Regions from separate parts of the Homo sapiens genome. Here region 1 is linked to region 2. The links are contacts of gene promoters, found by promoter capture Hi-C in human tissues and cell types (Jung and others, 2019). All regions are on one chromosome and are shown on one strand. Each heading gives the region's core, a stretch centred on a gene start or on the middle of the fragment in contact. The rest is flanking DNA. Distances are from core to core; before and after follow the strand shown. Region 1 overlaps TMEM178B (transmembrane protein 178B). Region 2 holds the start of ADCK2 (aarF domain containing kinase 2).

Region 1 (3,353 bases), core at 514-3,013, 410 kb before region 2:
TAACTGTGAGAATTCACAAGTTATCTGACCTTTCTGTGCCTCAGTTCCCTCAAATTTAGGATGAGAATTTAAAATAATACTTATACTTCCTAGGGTTATTATGAACAATAAATTAGCTAATACATATAAAACTTTTAGGAGAGACCTGTCATCAAGATTGGCTATAATTATCATTAATCTCTTTCCCACCCCACCAACTTTGCAAGTGATGTTTAATGGAGATGGAGAGGGCAGGAGGGAAGAAGGGAGAAGCTTGTGAGAATTCTGTGAGTTGATGATAGAAAATTAAAATATAAATTTACTATAATTGACCATGAACTAAAGCCTTCTGCCCAATATATTCAAGTAGCAGTTTCTTAAAGTGTAGAATGATATACTTAAATTTAAACCCAAGTTATCATGGAATTATACTCATCTGAAACAAAGTTATGTGCTTGGTTCTTTTAGAGGCTATAGGCTCTGCGTGGCGCTGTCCAACAGAATTTTCTCCGATGGTGGGAATGTTCACTGTAATCTGCACTGTCCCATACAATAGCCAGTAGGCACATACGGCTACTGAACATTTGAAATGTGGCCAATACAACTACGGAAATAATTTTTGTTTGTTTGTTTTTTGAGACAGAGTCTCGCTCTGTCACCCAGGCTGGAGTGCAACGGCATGATACCAGATCACCGCAACCTCTACCTCCTAGGTTCAAGCGATTCTCCTGCCTCAGCCTCCTGAGTAGCTGGCATTACAGACACACACCACCATGCCCAGCTAATTTTTGTATTTTTACTAGAGATGGGTTTTCACCATGTTGGCGAGGCTGGTCTCGAACTCCTGAACTCAAGTGATTCACCTGCCTCGGCCTCCCAAAGTGCTGGGATTACAGGCGTGAACCACTGTGCCCAGCCTATTTTATTTAACTTTGGTTATTGTTAACTTGAACAGCCACATGTGGGTTGTGGCTCCCCAACTGGGCAGCATAGCTGTAGGGGATTTGATATACGAGCTCCCTGACTTGGTCCATGGCTGCTCTCCAGCTCCTGGTCTGCTCCTTCTCCTTGCCCCAGAAATCAACACTCACAAGGCCAAACTGCTGTTCCACACCTCTATGGCTGTGCATATGCTGGCCCATTGCCTGAAATATCCTTCCTCCACATCCACCTCCAAACCTTATCAAACATCTTGTTCAGATTTCATTTCCTCAGGACAACTTTCCCTAACCTCCTCCTGCCTACCTCCCGCTACTGCCGACACAATCCACCATCACTTTCTCTGTGTTCCTCTGCATCTGTTTCTGTTGCTGCTCTCATCATCCTGTAGTTGTAACCTATTTTCTCTGACACTAACAGACTATGCAAATTCTGAGGACCAGATCTTATGCATTTCTTCATCCTAGCGATGTGTGCCCATAACACAATACATGTGTAGTAAATATTTGCTGATCCCATTATTAATTTTTAAATATGTGAATGTTTTCTTAAAATTACTTTTGGAGTATTGACAACCACTCTGTGATTATGGGAACTCTTTAAGTCAAAGTCTATTATAAGGCCAATTTTCAAATAATAAAAAGTTCTTAGAGTATCAGTTGAAGTTCTACTTATTTCAAACTATATCAATATAATATTTTAGTACAAACCAAATAATATAATTTTCCCCTTAGAGTTCCCTAGAACAAAATCCTACCTATAACTCCTCCTCCTAAGGGTCTGGAAGTCTCTTGGATTTCAGAAACTGATCTTGTCACTGATCTGTCCCCAGTGCCTGCAGTCACTTACTAGGGAGACATGGATGAGATTTAAAAGCAAGAAGACAAAAGGACCTGATTTAAGACTTGTCATGGATGCCAACAAATGGGAATTCAGGGTAATCTACCCTTGCTGTACCCTATATCCAATCTTACCCCCAAGAAGGAAATAATTAAAACCTTATCCATCATAAAAAATAATGTCCACAAGTGATATGTGTCTGCTTAGTGACATGTTATCCAAAACAGAATTGTCTGTTTTCCTTATTCTTTGGCAAAGCTCAAGAAATCGTCCCTTCATAGATTATGTAGCATTTGTTGCAATATTGACCTGGCCTGACAGCCACACTGTTTCATATTTTCCCATCACGATTTTCTAATTTTTTACTTAAATTCTCACACAAGTGTTTCTATAATTAGAATAAGCTTGGATGGATACATTTCTGTGAACCTAATTTGTATGAAATATTTCCCAAATACCAAGCATCTGGTGAATGTATTTAACAAATGATGGTCTTTCCTGACCTCTAGGAACTTACAGTTTAATAATGCAAACAAATGAATACACAGTGATGAGAAATGCATACGTGTGGGTACAGCATGGCAGAAGGTCCTGGAGGGGAATGGATTTCAGAATGAATATGAATCCAGAGGACTTTACCTTCAAATCAGACATAGATTTGATGTTCGTTTTCTTATTAATTATGTGGTTTTATGTTGAAATGCACAAATAGCACTTTCTAATGTAATGAACATCGATTTAACAAATAACTAAGTTCTTTAGATCATTTAGATAAGTCTCTAATTTTCCTATATATTAACGGATTTTAAAGTCTTTTCTCTGGTTTTCTTTTTCCCTTGCCCATTACATATCTTCCAGAATTTTAATCAAAGTAGATATTTCAAAGAAGACAGAGGTCTGAGATCTCTTTTGCGGTTTCTAATGAATAATGTGAGATAAACATCTTTTTCTAAAATGTCTCATTTAAATATAGGGATATCAGTTTCTCTTTTTAACTTCCTTATAAAATCTGCCCATCTAAGAGGAACACTAAGTGTAAAAATTGTGTTCTATATGTTATTGGAATTGCTTGTGAATTCTACTAATATAACATGCACTTATTTCCAAAATGTGTCTATTGCTGCTCAGAAAAGGAAGATCTGGTTTTCAAAGAGTGTGTGTTGAGGTTAAAAATGAAGATAGTGACCTTAACTCTCTCAAGATTTGTAAGGCTGGCATGTCATCTATCTCAATAATACCTAACAAGAATGTCAAATGGACAGAAACAGCCATGGTAAGCGGGTGCTTGCCGCTGACAGTGATTGCTGTATTTTGGGCGATGGGGAACACCATTTCCATTAGTTCAAGTGAAATACAATGCCCTGCCAACTCTAGGTATCAGTGTATTCAATACCCCTGCTGTGCCATGTCCATTTTCTGTTGCTGCAATTAAAAATCAGTCGATACAAAATCAAAATGTTGTACATTCTTCCCCTATCCCTTTCCCTGTCTCTGTTTCCAGCTTCACCGGAAGAACATGTCACTATGGCAACCAACCCCTCCAGTGCACAGACCAAGTCAACCTTTCTAGTCAGACTGCCAAGCAGAGCAACAGG
Region 2 (2,986 bases), core at 410-2,909:
AAAGAGGAACCGTGAGACAGGAGAAACCTGCTGGACACATTTTACCCAGCCAGGGCTGGGTCCCACCATCCAAGCAAGAGCCAGGTGGCTTCTTATCAAAGAAAAGAGGATGTGGTCCCGACACCCAAGCAGTTAGTTCACTCCAGACTCAGTTCATTTTCCTCTATCAGACTATTCACACCGCCACTTCAAGCCAATAAATGAAACAGCTTGCATGAAATAAGCACTCAGATATTGGTCAGGCAAATAGAAATAAACGTGGGGGCGATTTGCATGGCGGTTGTTTCTGATCTGGGATAGCTCAGTGGGTAGGTGAGCTGTGAGCTCTCACAACACTTACTTTCACTGCCACGGAGATGAGGTTGGTGGCCTCAGGTTGGTGGCCAGGGACCTGAGCCCGAGACACCCCTGCATTTGATCCAACCAGGTCAGCTTTAGGGAGGAGCAGCCTTTCTAGAAACGACTGGTCTGCGAGATTTTCTGGAGGTTTCCGGCCATTTCCAAGGTATCCAAAGAGCTCTCTCAGCCCACCGACTGCCCCAGTATGTGAGAAGGGCGGCAGACAGGAGGCCCTGCCAAGTCTCTGGACGCTGTCAGTCTCCAGGAAGGCAGTGTTGGCGTATGCTTTGTACACCTGGGCCACGCAGCCTGAGCCCACAGGTTCCCGGTTCTCAAAAGAGAGGATGCTCCCCCAGTCATCCCCAAAAGCCTGCCGAAGGAAGCGCTCAGTGTGAGTCCACGGGTGGGGCGTCACTCGGACATGCAGCTTGGAAAATTGGGCACAGAAAGCCTCCGAAAACAGATCGCGCCGGGTGCTGGCCCACTGGCCCAGTTTGATGTAGGTTGGGCCTGAGGTCTCGGTGGCTTTCAGAAGCAGGTGGAGCCAGAGGGTGGAGACGCTGGGAGCCAGGTAGGTGAGGGGGTAGAGGAGTAGGAGGGGGAAGAATTTCACCAACAGAGCGCCGGCGCGAAGCCAGAGGCGGAGATGCAGGAAGACGCCGCCCAGAGGTCCCGCTCGGGGGAGGCTCTCCGCGGGCCCCGCGCCAGCCGCCCCGCTGCAGCGGACCCTTCGCCGACTCAGAACGTCAGGGGCCCCCTCACCCACGTCCCCGCACAGGGAGACGACCTTGGGCAAAGTGCCCAGCAGAAGCCAGCAGAGCCTGGCATCGCGAGGGCACTCGGAGGGCCTCAGGAGGCTGAGTCCCTGTCTGAGCTCGAAGCACCTCAGGTGCGACAGGCAAACCCTGACGGAGACGCGCCAGGGCGCCACCATCCTCCCGAGGCCCGCGGCCCAGGCGGCCCGCCCTCCACTTCAGAGGCGCCCGCTCAGGCGAGGCTGCGGTGAAGCCGAAGCCCGGCCCTGACCCCGCGGACGGAGCTGCCCATCTGGGCCGGATCCGCGCCCCGCTCCCTCCAGCACCTCGCCGGGCCTCAGGCCGGAGGCCCGCGCCCCGCCCGACACCCGCCGCGCCGCGCCGCGCCGCGCGGAAGGGGCTGTCAGACGGCACCAACTGCGGAACGGGAGGAGCCAGGACCCACGCGAAGCCAGGCCCCGGGCGCCCGCGACCTGAGCGAGGGGGCCGCGCGGGCGGAGGCAGGGGCCGGGCAGCCGCAGGGTCACCGTGCGCCCAGGGGCCAGTATGAGATCGCTGGGGTGGCGGGCACCAGCCCAGGGCGCGGGCGCAGGCGGGGGCCGGGAGGGCGGGGCGGAGCGTGGAGGGCGGGCGGAGCGTCGGGGGCGGAGCGTCGGGGGCGGGCGGGAGTGCAGGTGCAGGGAACCGAGGCACCGAGGGCTGTGGTGGAGCGGAGGGGCGCGGGAGATGGATGGGACGGGTTCGGCCACTAGGTTGAAACCGCCATTGCAAAATTATAACAGATAATGAAAGAGATCTGACCTAACCAACTCCATCTTGCTTCTAACCTCCAAGCTGTCCTTGTTCATTCCTGGGCGTTGGCTGAACTAACTTTGGGAGGAACTTAGTTTATACTTTATAGTTTAAAACAAAGATGATAACAGCCCTTTCTGAAAACAAACCTCCTTCTTGCCTGGGGAATAGACTGTCTTTGTAGGACTAACAAATTAACCAAAAGATTAGAAAGTATGATTTAGGAGTCAGGCAGCAAGGCTACAGTATTCTGACCCTCCCTAAACTGCTAATAAGATCAGTGCTCAAGATATTTTGCAGACCCTGCACTTGATGGATCAACTGACACCTACCAGATCGATAAACCAGGTCATCTGATCTTAGGCCCCCACTCCGGAACTAACTCAGCACAAGAGGACAGCTTCAGTTCCCTAAGATTTCACCTCCGACCCAACCAATCAGCACTCTCGACTCACTGGCCTTCCCCCACCCACCAAGTTGTCCTTAAAAACTCTGCCCAGTGTCCCGCGCAGCCTGATCTGTGTGAATTACTCCTTCTCTATTGCAATGCCCCTGTCTTGATAAATCGGCTCTGTCTAGGCAGCAGGCAAGGTGAACCCGCTGGGCTGTTACAGGGTGGCCGGTGGGGGCAGAGGGCTGGGTGCTGGGCGGTGAGGGTCGGAGGGAGCAGAGGGTCGGTGGCAGAGGCCCGGGCAGCCAGGGTCCCTTGACCCGCCCCTTAAAGAGGACGGCGACCCCAGGCCAAGACCACCCTGCCCTTGAGTCCTGGGTCCTGGGTAGCAAAACGCAAAGGCACCCTCTATGTCCCCCTCCCCATGTCTATCTTCCCACTGACTTCTTCGTATCTTTCATTATTCCAAAGAGCATGGCTGAAAAGTATGAAGGCAGGTTCTGAACACAGGTCCGCTTTTCAGCGGGGGTTGGGTAGGGGGGTGGTGTTGGATGGGGGTAACTGGGCTGCAGGAGTAGGAACTGGATGCTGTGTCCTCGGCTGCATTAATTCGGCAATTGTGTTGGACCTTGGGGAAAGGCTCCGGAAAGGCCATATTCATTCATTCAATAATACTCACTGAGCCCAATAAATATTTCTTGAGCCCAAT

The links. The method cuts DNA at HindIII sites, captures the fragments that hold promoters and counts their contacts. A contact is called where the count stands out against the background at its distance.
Region 1: a fragment that was not itself captured here is called in contact with the fragment with the promoter of ADCK2 in region 2 in 1 of the 25 tissues and cell types used here (thymus).

Annotation. Positions count from the first base shown.
Region 1 is chr7:141,076,549-141,079,901 of GRCh38, reverse strand. The region is part of intron 1 of TMEM178B (transmembrane protein 178B); the gene reads right to left. Among named protein-coding and RNA genes, the nearest start is that of TMEM178B, 4.2 kb to the right of the region's middle. The HindIII fragment of the contact is 3,666 bases long and covers 1-3,353 here.
Region 2 is chr7:140,671,618-140,674,603 of GRCh38, reverse strand. ADCK2 (aarF domain containing kinase 2) reads right to left here and starts at 1,659. Exons shown (of 8, transcript NM_052853.4): 1 at 341-1,659. The coding sequence starts at 1,273. RefSeq lists a silencer at 1,265-1,724. The HindIII fragment of the contact is 30,105 bases long and covers 1-2,986 here.